Linked DNA regions of Homo sapiens: all the other regions are linked to region 1. The links are contacts of gene promoters, found by promoter capture Hi-C in blood cells and fetal thymus (Javierre and others, 2016). All regions are on one chromosome and are shown on one strand. The core of a region is centred on a gene start or on the middle of the fragment in contact, and the rest is flanking DNA. Distances in the headings are between cores, read along the strand shown. Region 1 holds the start of LPAR3 (lysophosphatidic acid receptor 3). Region 2 overlaps TTLL7 (tubulin tyrosine ligase like 7). Region 3 overlaps TTLL7 (tubulin tyrosine ligase like 7). Region 4 overlaps TTLL7 (tubulin tyrosine ligase like 7).

What was found. The method cuts DNA at HindIII sites, captures the fragments that hold promoters and counts their contacts. A CHiCAGO score of 5 or more calls a contact.
Region 2: a fragment that was not itself captured here is called in contact with the fragment with the promoter of LPAR3 in region 1 in 3 of 17 cell types (naive B cells, total CD4 T cells and monocytes); the score reaches 6.6 in naive B cells.
Region 3: a contact is called between a fragment that was not itself captured here and the fragment with the promoter of LPAR3 in region 1, in 5 of 17 cell types (M0 macrophages, erythroblasts, naive CD4 T cells and 2 more). The highest score is 6.8, in M0 macrophages.
Region 4: a fragment that was not itself captured here is called in contact with the fragment with the promoter of LPAR3 in region 1 in 1 of 17 cell types (non-activated CD4 T cells); the score reaches 6.7 in non-activated CD4 T cells.

Annotation. Positions count from the first base shown.
Region 1 is chr1:84,891,470-84,895,023 of GRCh38, forward strand. It overlaps LPAR3 (lysophosphatidic acid receptor 3), which reads right to left and starts at 1,737. Exons shown (of 3, transcript NM_012152.3): 1 at 1,547-1,737. The HindIII fragment of the contact is 2,976 bases long and covers 1-2,918 here.
Region 2 is chr1:83,894,462-83,898,015 of GRCh38, forward strand. The region is part of intron 18 of TTLL7 (tubulin tyrosine ligase like 7); the gene reads right to left. Among named protein-coding and RNA genes, the nearest start is that of LINC01725, 35 kb to the left of the region's middle. The HindIII fragment of the contact is 1,368 bases long and covers 1,006-2,373 here.
Region 3 is chr1:83,917,198-83,920,751 of GRCh38, forward strand. It overlaps TTLL7 (tubulin tyrosine ligase like 7), which reads right to left. Exons shown (of 21, transcript NM_024686.6): 13 at 2,502-2,637; 14 at 407-493. Among named protein-coding and RNA genes, the nearest start is that of LINC01725, 58 kb to the left of the region's middle. The HindIII fragment of the contact is 834 bases long and covers 1,545-2,378 here.
Region 4 is chr1:83,954,794-83,958,347 of GRCh38, forward strand. The region is part of intron 1 of TTLL7 (tubulin tyrosine ligase like 7); the gene reads right to left. Among named protein-coding and RNA genes, the nearest start is that of TTLL7-IT1, 28 kb to the right of the region's middle. The HindIII fragment of the contact is 3,276 bases long and covers 347-3,554 here.

The DNA.
Region 1 (3,554 bases), core at 487-2,986:
TAGTCCAGTTTGTTTAGACAAGCCTGGGGTTAACAGAGCCAAGGTGTGTGTTTCTAACCGTATCACTTCTGTCCCAAAAAGAGGAAAACTCTGTTTACTGGACTCAGGCCACTAAATATCAGATCCACTGCCCATGGAAAGCAGGGTTAGCAACTGTTGATGGATCAATGGAAAATCCAGCAACTCTTCTCAGCGATACAAAAGTCCATGCATTAATGAAACGTTGTGCGGTACATGGAATTTGTAAAGAGGAGATTGATTGTCTGTCTGTAATTGACATTTACTTTATTCTCTGATACAGACTAAGTTGGAACCGTGAGAAAGCCCTTTATTTCTAAACGGCATCTCAAGACCAGGTAATGCTACTTTCGGAGGAAAAGGAGGAAGAAAAGCGTTGTAATGACAATAACAAATTACGGGGGAAACATTTCGTGGAAATTACTCAGTTTAAAAAACTGACCTAGCCGGGCGCAGTGGCTCACACCTGTAATCCCAGCACTTTGGGATGCTGAGGAGGGTGGATCACGAGGTCAAGCGTTCGAGATCAGCCTGGCCAACACAGTGGAACCCCGTCTCTACTAAAAATACAAAAAATTAGCCTAGCGTGGTGGTGGGCGCCTGCAATCCCAGCTACTAGGGAGGCTGAGGCAGGAGAATCGCTCGAACCTGGGAGGCGGAGGTTGCAGTGAGCCGAGATCGCGCCACTGCACTCCAGCCCGGATGATAGTGCGAGACTGTGTCTCAAAAATAAATAAATAAATAAATAAATAAATAAATAAATAAATAAATAAAAACTAACCTACAAATGCTTTTCAGGGCCATTTTAATGATTACCTTAATAAGACTAAATTGTTTCCAATATTCACAGTCACTCCTCAAATTACATGCGTGCGGAATTTCTAAGCAATTTTGTGTAGCTGCAACTTGTTGAGGGAAAGCAATAAAGTAACTCTGCTACAGAACAAAAGCACTTTTGTCTCGTGGTGGTGAGGGGGCATACCCTGAACAAACAACCCCGACAGTGTTGCTAGTTACTAGTTCCCGAATCTCTAGAAGCCTGCACATGGTTCAAGCTGTTCCCCAGCGGACACAGCACAGTACCAGATGTAACTGGAGGCTGAAAAATGTTATATCCCTAGGCTTCACGAGAGAACCCCAGTTTCCTAATCACCATCGATGGCAATGAGACTGAGTTTGGAAAGAACCACGTGTGCAAAGGCAGACGCAACCCGTGCGGCGCTCTCCTGGCCTCTGCGCCCAGCCCGCCAGCCCTCAGCAGCGGACGCAACGCCGATTTTGCATCTAGATTGCTTTTTGCTCCTAGCGGGGAAAAAGGTGGGAAAAGAGCAAGTTGTGCCATACACCCGCCGGGAGAGTCTTGTCCCGGGGTTTGGAGTGGGTCTGGAGCCCAGGCTTGCACGCCAGGCAACCCCGAAAAGCCGCAGGCTAGAGCCCTGCAGGCGCCGCTGCGCCCCGGCCTCCCCACGACGCACGCCCTGGTGACTGCGGCTCGGGGTACCCTCCCTGCGCCCGGACCCTCACTCACCGCTCACGTTCACCCGCGCCGCCGAGCCCGGGAGCGGGGGCCCCTGCGGCTGCCGCATGCCCTCGGGGTCGAGCGCGACGGGGCGACCGGGCGCCGGGCTCCAGCCGGGCGCGGAGAAGCAGCGGAGGACGCGGCGGGCGGGCGGAGCGCCTCCTCTCCAGCGACCCCTGCGACGCGTCCAGAGCCAAAGGAAAGTTTGGCGGTGCGAGGGAGGGACCTAGGGACAGCGGCCCCTCCCTGCCCCGCCCCGCCCCGCCGGGTGCGTTCGACGTTCCCACTGGAGAGCGTCCCCAACCTGCAAGGCCGCGAGCTGCGCTCAAAGGGGCCCGTGCGAGCCGCGGGAGGGCAGCGCTCTTGCAGACGCGTTCCTGCCTGGGATCGTCCCCAGGTGGGTGGTCGGCCGGCCCCGAGAGGGAAAAGCGCCCACTAAAGGACCGCTAGTACCCACAAGCCTCACGGAGCCATACCTCGGAGCTCCGTATTAGAACGCAGTCCCTCTGCCCCTCTGTCCTCAGAGATTTGTTTGAAGTGGCTGCGGGAAGTGCAGCCCACACCCACCACCCCCGTGGGAGGCAGGCTCTACTCCAAGCCCGACCTAACGCTGGAAACCTCAACCCCAAAGCTACCCGAGGGTGCGGACAGCCCCCAGAGGCAACCAACAATATTTAAGGTTCTTGTAAGAGGTTTCTTGGCCTCCTGGGGCAAATAGTCCTGGATACTTTGTTTTTCAAAGCTGAAATATAAAACCTCCACTGACCCACCTTTAGTAAAGAAGAAAGATGCAAAGTAAAACAAATGTCATGAAGGCATTGTTCTCTCTGAATTCTGCAAAGCAATAACGAAGTCACAGAAATGTTCAAAGTTGTGCTTTCCTGGTGACCTTACAAAAAGGAAATACTGTGAGGTGAAGTCCTTCCCACTCAGACTTCAGGCCCTTAGGAAGCAATGAGAGTTGTGTGCCCAGATGTCTTCCTGTGACCCTTTGCCATCCATCCATCCGTTCATTCATTCATCTTGCATTCACCATTAATACTGCGCCCTTCTGTGTGCCAGCTAGGAACCTCATCCTTGCAAACAACCTGTTAGATAATCTGTCCCCTACCATCAAAGAGATTCTGTTTTCTCTGCAGAGGATGTTTTAATAAGGTTACGTCCCTTACTCCGTGGGTCTTATCCTATAGACCATAATAGCCTAATGTGCCTCAAACCTCCCCGGGGCTACAGCTAAGTTTTCATCAGCATGTGAAAATTATTGTTTCATCTAAGTGTTCAGAAAATTATTGCGGTGTCTTGCAGTTGAACTGTGTAGAGAGAAGTACAACTTGCGAAGCTAGGGCTAAAGAAAGATCATGTGTTTACTTTTACAAGCAGAAGCTTTGCATATGATAAAAAAGCTCGGTGGCAAACATGGTGAAAACCCGTCTCTACTAAAAATACAAAAAGCCGGGCGTGGTGGCACGCACCTGTAATCCCAGCTACTCTGGAGGCTGAGGCAGGAGAATCGTTTGAACCTGGGAGGCGGAGGTTGCAGTGAGCCGAGATCGCGCCACTGCACTCCAGCCTGGGCGACAGAGCAAGACTCCGTCTCGGAGGGGCGGGGGTCGGAAAGAGCTCTCTCTGTCAAGGGAGAGAACAGCTCAGCTCAAACATCACGGTGCTGAAGGGCAACCTGGTAAACACAGAAATACTCAACCACCAGCATTTACTGAATACTTGACGCAACAAAGGTGTAGTATGTTGAGTAAGATGTTGCAGGCTAGACTGTAAACACCACTAAGAGCCTTCTTTTGCTGGGAAAATCTGTTCTGAATCCAAACAACTTACTAACAAAGGCACTTGGGAAACACATTATGTTGCATTATGTTGTACCTTGGGAACTTCCTGAACTCGAGGTAATTGCAAAGCAGAACAGGGATCCCACAGAGTTGAATCTGAATCCTTAAAAAAGGAGGAAAGTGAAGAGGGCATGGGGAGCTGTGTTGCAAAAGGAAAGAGACTTTCCAGATAG
Region 2 (3,554 bases), core at 440-2,939, 1.0 Mb before region 1:
TGTATCATCCGCCTGCTCTATGCAAAACACTGTGCTAGGCACATTACTTAGAGGAGATTCTTTTGACCACTACTCTGCATATATTTTCTTAATTTAGAGGGAATTTTAATAGCATGACAGTACCATATTCTAGCCCATACATGACTAAAAGCAGCACCTTCAGAATGGAGCCGGGGAGTTAGGGATGGGGAATGCTTCTGCTCCATTCCTAATGTTTTCTTCAATATGGAGATGGAAAAATCTGCAGGCATCATGGCACCCCATCAGGCACCTCTACCTAAGAAGCAATTTCCCAGATTGGTGAGACTGACATGGTCTGGGCAAACTAGGCACATTCTCCTTCCTGTCCAGAGCAAACCACTGGGAACACGCATTCCTCTTTGCTTCTCTTTGCTTTCAGTTTTCAAGGAGCCTCCGCAAGAAGGCAAGCTTTGGTCCTCGGAGACCCACCCCTATAATTTGGAGGGCATGGAACAACAGACTGAGGGAACAGGAACCCAAATCCTTCAACTCTCCTCTGAGTCTTCACATAAGCTCCTTCCTCTGCCTGAAACAGTCTTCTCCTATCTCTTCATCTGATAAACTTCTATGTTTCACTTCAAATGCCACTTCTAAGGAAAACTTTACCTGCCACTGAACTATTGTTTGATATCTTAATGCCCAGTTCTTCCTTTATTAGCAAGCACCTTATTTTATTTTAATTTCCTGTTTAATTAATGGAGACTGTTATGCATATAAAGGGAGTAAACTGTGCCCATCTTGATAATAAAGTTACCAGGTCCCCAAGGCTTAAGACAAGGTCTATCATTTAGTAGGTTCCTGTCTTAGTAAGTCATTCCTTGCAAGAAAGTCACACCTATGTAGACAAGGTAAAAAATCATTGAGAGAACTTACCATGTGCCAAGCACTGTTCTAAGCACTTTTACATATATTAACTCATTTAGTCCTCAAAACAAAAACATGAGGTAGATACTATTGGTCCACAGTCCCTTTCCAAAAATCTCAAGCTTAGATTCCATAATCATACATATTATTAATTCTGCAGGAAAAAAATGTAAATATTCAAACCAAGAGATAGACAAAATCAATACATAACTTCTTGTCAGGTCATTGTCACCAAATGAATTCAGGTAGGTTAGGTTTTGCTGCCTAGGGGTTATGAAAATTTTTTTGGTCGTGAAAACATTTTGGATCCCCATTTTATGGATGAGAAAACTCAGGCACAAAGCAGATAAGTAACTTGCCCAAGATTACCCAGCTCATTGTATCCAGACCTACGCTCTTAACTACATCCAGCACTGCCTCACAATTTAGATTTTCCAGATGCCAGCAGCAAAAGCCTAGAGAGAACCCCATTATCTCTTCTTAGATTCAGATTCATTTCTAGTCAAATGGTATTTGGGAGGAGAGTGGGATCACTGTGTAAAAACAAGGTTGCCTAGGCACCCCCTCCTTTATGGCCACGGAGTAAGGAATAGTTTGTTTAGAAGGCTATACAGATGGGGAGACAATGACTGTACTTTTAGCCAAATACTCACTTAATAATTTTAAGAAAGCACAGACCAGGCAGGCAAGAAATCAGACTGGAATGAGATAAATTAGTGCTAGTTCTACCTGTGATGCTTTTTTGGATTTCTGGTCCTTTGGGGATTGAAGAAATTGGATGGAAGATGAATAATTCGTGAAACACAAAAATAAATGATCAGCAAGGTGCCCTTGTGTTATCTGTGGGCTTACGTGAGGCTAATTTATAGAATATAGGTATCCATTTCCTTACATTATGACTTTTAAAAGCATCCCAATCCAACATTAAGCTCTCCAAGGGAAAAAACAAATGGGAGATTCAGTCAATGACAACATTAATAAAATGAAAAGATTTGTCTTTTCCATGTGAAATATAGCACATTTGAAGGCATAAAGCACACAGACAAATTCATATTTTGCAAAAGCATACAGATGTTGAATGACAAACTGCTCCATATGGCCGAACAGTTGGTCCTAAATTAAAATAATGGCACGAGGTGAAGGCGGTTTAGAAATAACATTAAAATCACTACATGCTGTACTAATGATGCATGCAGCAGCGATGGCTATAGGGTAAAGGCATCTTTGCTGATGCAAAACGAACAGCTCTGAACAGCATCTATGTCAGCCTGAATAAAACAGAGACGGAAAATAGTATCATCAAAATGCATGCAGAAGCAGCCACAGTAGGTATTAAAAATAAATTGCTATTTAGAGAAGTAATACTTGATAAACAAGGACCTCTTAGCACCCTAAAATAAATGCAAATACAGTACAACCTTAATGTCATTAGTTATTTCTCTTCATCCTCCACTCTTAGTTTATGTTTAGGTATCACATCAGATAATAAGCTTTTCAGCAAATCTGGCATTCTTTGCAGCCCACCAACATGACTATATTTTCATACTTCATATATATTCCTCACAAACTATATAAAGCAACTGCATTCTTGGCAGAAAGCTAAATTATGCAAGTATGGAGTTACCACAACATGACATTAAATAAGATTAACTATTTCCATTTTCACCTGGTGAGGGTTCTTTTCAGGATTTAATTCCCATACCCTTGATCTTTACATTTTACATCCATTAAGGAAAATTTGAAGGCAAATAATTTTTTTTTAATTTCCAAGAACAGAAAAAAGGAAAGCATGTGAAAGACTCTGTGTGTATGTCATTCTAATCTTGGAGCTTTACAACAGGCTAATAACCACAAATGCCTCAATCCTGGAACAGGAAAAGTGGTATATATATTTCCATAATGGTCTCTAAATGGAATTAAGATACTTAAATAAGAGTCTTGTGCTTCCATACCTTGAATAGTGCCTGGGGCATGGTAGTCCCTCAATAAATATCTGTTGAATGCATGATTAAGTGAGCAAATAAATGAATGAGTAAACAACTCTCAAAATCCCTAACAGTGTCTAGCATATTATTTGTATAAAATTGGCAATCAATAAATGTTTGTTAAATTAAAATGTATCACGCACAGCCTTTGTGGCAGCCATGGAGATGTGCCACTTAAATTAACATGTTTCAAAGAATGCAGTTAGCTGATGGCTTCCCCACTGGGGATCCACTGCAATATTCAAACCATGCTTACACTCTCCCAAGATAGTTCCCAGCCAAGGATGAAGCATGGCTGGGATACGAGTGAAGAGCTATTTCTGCTCACTGTGATCCCTTCAACAGCCAGTCTTTGTTCTGGGCTCCCCATCAGCCTGACCACAACTTTCTCAGAGATCCACTAAAGTCTGAGGTTCTTCCTACCCAGTCCTCCTCCCTTGCATTCACTGGAGTCAGACCTGCATTGTAGCCCTAAGGCTCTTCCTGCCTACTTGCGCTCTCTCTCCCCATTATCTTCCTTGGGTGTTTTCCATTAAAAAAAAAAAAAAAAAAAACTTTCACTGTTAATTCCACCTTAGTGTCTGCCTCCCAGAAGATTAAGCTGGTAAAGCTTTCAATGATTATTGACTGACATCACAGCCAAAAGAAGGATGGATCTGATTAACATGCATCTAATGTAAATTA
Region 3 (3,554 bases), core at 712-3,211, 970 kb before region 1:
ATGTTGTTAGGTCAGCAAAAGACAGGGCTTCTAATTAGGGTCTCTAGAGTTCATGATTTGCCTTATTTATAATGTTACCCATTTATTTGATAATTATCTGTCTAGAGGTATGAGGCAAACTTAATACTTAGTTTAGAATAAGAGTACTAGCTCTTGGGTCCCTTTTGGCCCTGACTCATGGTCTTTTCACTGTCATCAGGAAAATAACCAAAATGACGAATGAAACTAATAAAACAAAACAAACTCCTGAGTGTAAGGTATCATCATCTTCCAAACTTTACCTGCACTGGGCACACAGTCCCTGTGGTTCCTTTTTTAAAGCAGCACCAGTCTTTCTTATAGTGAGAAGTATCAAGGGCTAGTAGCATCTACTTTGATAAGTAAGGAAGGTAGAGATATACTGCACCTTTGGTCCTCGAGTCTTGGTAGTTTTTCCCATCAACTTTTCATCATCAATTTCACATTGCTCCAGAAGATCCAAAATATCTTCTTCCTTCAAAAAATATTCTAATTAAAATTACAACCACTAATGGACTCTAGAATTTTTCCAAGTTGATTAATCTCCACAAAATAATGCAGAGCAAGGATTCCTGAAATTATTTAGTGAAGATTGCTCAGAAAAAAGGAGAAATATTAAAGGGTCACAGCAAATTCTCTTGAAACTTTCACTAAAATCTGGCATTATAATTAATACATAGCCAAAATCTATTCTGTATTAATTATCCTAAACAAATGTATCTTTATAGTACAGTATAGTATTAAAATCTTAGAGTATAATACTTCAATAAATTAGCCCATTGGACACTAAAATTTCTGGAAAGTTCATGCTGTTTTCCAGATTTCAAGTTTATGAATCATTTCTATACAGATTAGTGCAAAATGATATTAAACCTCCAGACAGAAAACTGATAATTGGACTAACAGTTTCACTTAGAAACATTCTAATGTGAGTATTTGCTGACTGGGCACTATTTAATGAAACTCTTTCAAAATTTTAATGATTGCACAAAGTATTTTTAGAACTTTATAAAGGTTTTCATTCTATAGTCATCAAAGGTAGCAAAAAGCCACAAGTGCCCTAACACCTTTCCTGCGTTCTACTAGAGTCATATTCTGAATCAAAAGGAAATTTTGTAAAAGCATATACCCCAGTGGATATTAGGCAAGCCAGGACAATACGAGTATAATAGCTACACTGAAAGAGGTATAATCAACTGTATCATTTAGTTATTTAAGAAAGGATTCTAGAAAAGGTTTTTGAAGAAACTAGAAATCTCACTGTGCAGTAGAAATGTGTAAAGTAAGTTACTCTTTGTCCCAATCTAAGGAAATTTAGCTATTGAAATCCCAAAATACTCTTATTATACATTTTTTATTAAATAATAATCTTACAATGAATTCCATGGATAGCAGTACAATATAGCCAAAAAGAAACTCAAGGAGTTCTGCTTCTGTTTAGGAGAAATATAACAGATAATACTTTCATCATAACAGCCAGAAAAGGCCAGATAAACTAAACAATCATATTTTCTAAAACATCAGAAAGCTTTACTTTAGGTAAAAAGTAATGTAAAGAAACTAAATTCCAAAGAGGAACAAGTTCTTCCTAGGTGAGCAGAGATGAGTGGCCATTTTCTTCTTTGGGGTCATCTGTCATGTCTGGACATATGTAGGCAGAGATCAAGTCTAAAATAGAGAGCTCCTACTAGGATAAAAAGAATCTTCTTGAAATGCTCCCTTTTAGAATCCTGAGCTACTATATTGAGAGGTCTGACTACCCTGCTGAGAGACTGTGTAGGGAGAAAGAGATACCAGCCAGCTCCCAGATGTTTCAGCTATCTTATCTGACACACCAGACATGTGAGTGAAGCTACCCTGGATTTCTAGCCCCAGTTGGGCATTCAGATACATGCTACTATATGATTCACCCCAGGAAAGACAAGCGGAAGAACCACTCAGCTGTGCCCAGCCACGATTGCAGAGTAATGAGCAAATAAATGAAGTGGTTTGTTATGCTATAATAGAAAACTGCTAGACCTTTTACTATGGTGTACAGATTAGAGTGTGTGTGTGTGTGTGTGTGTGTGTGTGTGTGTTTCATTTACTTCCTCTCATATGCTAGATCTACATAGCATCAAGAAAAAGTATTATGTAATGTTTGTTATAATCCAAAAAATAAAAACGCTACAAACCACTAGGTTAATTCCATGGGTTTCTTTATCCAGTTACATATACACATCTATGTAAGAAGATACGTTATTATAATATATTGATATTACAACATAATATCACAATTCTCTACTCCATAATTTTTCTTGGTAGATATCTTATGAAGTAAGTTGGTTCATCATGAAATGTTACCAACTGTTAAAATAGAAAGCTTGGGGAAAGCATATCTTAAAAGTAAAATGTTTTTATATGTCGGACCAAGGTGGCTTGTCTGTAAAGACATATTGTTTAGCTTTATTCTTTTTTCTCTATATAAACATTCATTCTCTTACCTTCATCCTTTTCAAAGGATTATTCAACTCTCGCTGGAATGAAGCTGCTCTTCCTGAAAGGAAGGTCTGAAAGGCAACAGCTAACAAATTTTCATACTTTTCAAGTAATGCTTTATCTTCAGGAGGATAAATTCGTCTACAACAAAATCAGATAAACCAATTTTTTAAAAAGAAGCTGTCGTAGCTCAATAGTTAACATCAACTCCATAGACAATCCTTGACCATCTATTCTATACCAGTCACATTGCCAGGTATAAGCATTTCTATACTGATTAGTGCAAAATGATATTAAATATTAAACCTCCAGACAGAAAACTGATAACTGGCCTAATAGATTCACTTAGTAACTTTCTAATGTGAGTATTTGCTGACTGGGCACTAATTAATAAAATTCTTTCAAAACTTTAATGATTGCACAAGAGTATTTTTAGAACTTTATGAAGGTTTTCAGTCTATTCATTAATAGTGGCACAAATCCACAAACAAAGTTTATCTAGAGAATTAGCATTAAACAATGCAGTTCCAGAAGGTACAGTATAAGGGTTTAGTTGGGGGGAAATGGTTGGGGAAGAATGGTGATTGGGCAAATTGGAGAAATACTGAACTTTATAGGAGAGTGTTCAGGTAATAAGGGATACTGCAGGAGTGTTTTTACTTAGTGTGGTTACTGAAGTATACAAAAATGTAAGCAGTGGTTCTGATGATCTCTTTTGTAGTGGTGGAATTTGCCTCTCTAGTAGAGAGAAGTGGGTAGAGGTAGAGTGGGAGGAATGTGTTCTTATCACTACTGTTGATGGTGTTAAGGCCATGAAAGAACATCTTACCATGAGTGCAAGAACGCCCTCACACATTCCTTTATCCTGCTCAGGCAATGTCAAAAGTTGGAAAGTGGGCAATCTGTCCAAGAACACAATGAGCTGGGTGGGGTGGGGGGGTTTGAATCTGTCAAGGGTGATATTGTGGAAGGGTTCCAGTTTAACACAGCCCACATCCCTCTCCACTGTCTCATACCTAACTCCTTCAAACATTTTCATTATTTGCCTAGTTCCTGAA
Region 4 (3,554 bases), core at 735-3,234, 940 kb before region 1:
ACTCATAACTTTTTTAAAAAGACCAAATAGGTAAAAATTACCCACAAAAATCCTGTTTTCCTATCTAGTTCAAAAAAAAAAAAAACCAGAAAAAAATTTGACGGTGAGCACAAAATGATTTTTAAGATAAAGAAACAGAATTTATTTACAAAAGGAATCAATTTTCCAAAATTTCAAGCAAATGTTAACCTTGAACATAGAACTGTCAAGCACCAATAGATACACGAAATTGAAACAAAACCAAAATAATTCCAGTACATTTGTGCTAGAGTACCATTTCTTCCCTATTCTTCCGTTGAGCTTCTACCACACTTAAATTCCACATAAAATACCACTTTTTCCTGAAAGCTTTCTCTGATTATATCTGAAGAAATTCATTTCTCCCTCTTTTGGGCTATCACAGGCCTTATTTTTACCCTTATCATAATCACCTGCCAAAAAGATGGTTTTCTTCTATCTTGTTCACTCCTCCATTCCCAGGTCCTAGAATAGTGCCTGACCATAGTGTTCAATAAGCACTTGTTAATGTGTGCTATGGTTTGAATATTTGTGTCCCTCCAAAATTCATGTTGAAACATAGTCCCCAATGAAACAGTATGATGAGGTAGGACCTTTAGAAGGTGATTGGGTCCTGAGGGCTCCTTCCTCATGAATGGGAAGGACTTTATAATCAAGGCTTCACACAACCTTTCCATCCCTTCCACCATGAGAACACAGCATCCATCTCCTTCAGAAGGTGCAGCAACAAAGTACCATCTTAAAAGCAGAAACAGCAGCCCTCACCGTCAATAAACCTGCCACCACCTTGATGTGGACTTCCCAGCCTTCAGAAATTTGAGAAATAAATTTCTATTGTTTATAAGTTATCCAATTTGTGGCGTTTTGTTATAGCAGCACACACGGGCTAAGACACTGAGTTAATAAATCGGTTAATTAGCCAGGCACCATGGCTCATGCCTATAAATAATCCCAATACTTTGGGAGGCCTAGGCAGGAGGATCACTTGAGACCAGGAGTTTGAGACCAGCCTGAGCAACATCTCCACAAAAATTTAAAAATTAGCCAGGCATGGTGGTGCCTGCCTGTAGTCCCAGATACCTGGGTGGCTAAGAAGGAATGATAGCTTGAGCTAGGGAGGTCAAGGCTGCAGTGAGCTGTGTTCATGCCACTGCACTACAGCCTGGCAGCAGAGCGTGTCTTAAAAAACAAACAACCAATCAATTCATGAGAGCTGAGAGAAAAGAGAAATAGTCATCAAGCTCTGAGAAGCAAATACATGTAATTTACAATATATTACTTTTCACTTTAAAAAAATTTTATTTATGTATTTTGTTTTATTCATTTATATTGTTTTTTAGAGACAATCATAGCTCACCGTAATCTTGAACTCTTGGGCTCCACAATCCTCCTGCTTCAACCTCCCAAGTAGCTGGGACTACAGGTGTACACCACCACAACAGGCTTTTATTATTATTTTTATTTATTTATTTATGTATTTATTTATTTATTATTTTAGAGATGGGGTCTCACTATGTTGACCAGGCTGGTCTCAAACTCCTAGCCTCAAGTTATCCTTTCGCCTCAGCCTTCCAAAGTGCTGAGATTACAGGCATGAGCTACTGCACCTAGCCCACTTTTTTTTTTTTTTTTTGACACGAAGTTTTGCTCTTACTGCCCAGGCTGGAGTGCAATGGCACAATCTTGGCTCACTGCAACCTCCGCCTCCCGGGTTCAAGTGATTCGCCTGCCTCAGCCTCCCAAGTAGCTGGGATTACAGGCATGCGCCACCACACCTGGCTAATTGTTTTGTATTTTTAGTAGAGACGAGGTTTCTCCATGTTGGTCAGGCTGGTCTCGAACTCCCGACCTCAGGTGATCCGCCTACCTCGGCCTCCCAAAGTGCTGCGATTGCAGGCGTGAGCCACTGTGCCCAGCCCTAACCCACATTTTTAAGTGGAAAAAGCAAAGTACATAGAAGTTTACATATTACACTGCCACTTGAGCAAACCAACAGAGGAATATATGGAACATATCCACTGAGCAGTTGTGGCCTGCTATGGCTAGGGGTGGGGCTAAGGGAGACTTACTTGTACTTACCTTTAGTACTCTGTATATGTATTACCTGTTCAAAAAAGTAAAATATATGTGATAAAATTTTGTATCAATATAATCATGTTGATAACCAAAATCATCAAACTGTGTTCTCCATTTAAGTGAAAATACCTTTATTTCATTTAAATGAAAGTATAATATGGTAGAAAGAGCACTGAACAAGGAGTCAAATCAAATTCCTATCCTTTAATTTTCCACTTAGCAGATATAAATTCTTAGGCTGCAAAAGTAAAAGATTTATTCTTTCCACCCCTAAAGTCTAAAATGGCAACCAATGAAGATAACATTGCTGATATATTTTATGGCAAAAGATGAAGACAAACTTCTTTTATGTAAAAGAAGGAAACACAAAGAAAACTCAGACCTTCTCCAGCAACCCTCAATCCATACCCCAGTAAACATAATATATGAGGTCTTTGTACATTAATTTTTAGCTCACCCAAAGATTACTAAAATAATCAAACAAAAAGTCAAGAGGATCCAAAAATAGGGTTAAGTTAAAAATATGTAAAATAATATTAAATAAAAACATAATAAGAGCTGTTTTGTTGTGACAAGAGGAAGGAGAAAAGAACCAGTACAAACCAGTATCTACTTTCACATAACTTTATTTAGTCCACCCAACAAATACCCAGTACCTTTTATTCCCATTTTATATATGGGAAAATGTAGGCTCCAAGGTTAAGAAACTTGCACAAAGTCACACATCTAATAGGTTGAAGTGGTTTGTGGCTTCTACCTATTAGAAGAAGTATGGGAAGGAAACCCATATTCCTTCCCACTTTTTGTGCTACCTTCAAAATTCAGCCTTTAAATATAACATATTGAAGATTTCGCAAAGATGCTTGATTTTGTTCGACTGAATCTACGTTAAAAGCTGGAGCCCAAGGACATAGTGAGAAGGCAGTCCTCTGAAAGCCAGGAAGATAGCCCTCACCAGGAACCTAATTGTCTTGAGCCTTTTTTATCTTAGACTTCCCAGCCTCCAGAACTGTGAGAAATAAATATCTATTGTTTAAGCTACCTAGTCTATTATACTTTATTATAGCAGCCTGAGCAGACTAAGACATTGAGTCCAGTCTGCCCCTGGCTTCACAGAGTAGATAATTAAACTCTATCCTGAGCTTGCTATGGATTGTAACAATGATAATGAGGAAGAGCAAGAAGACAACAAAGAGGAAGAGAAGGATGGGGTTGATATCATCACTTATGTAAAACATCCTATGTGCCAGGCACTTTTTGAGGTTTATACATATAAAACTCTGACCTTCAAAACCCTAAAAGATAGATTATTATCCTCATTGATAATCGTTTAAAGAAAAGAGATATAATGAACAATGATATTGAAAAACAAGTTATAAGAAAATTTTAAAGTAACAATTTTGCAAATATGTCTCAAGATAATCTTCTCCAGATCCCTAAATTGTAATTATCGGATGAAA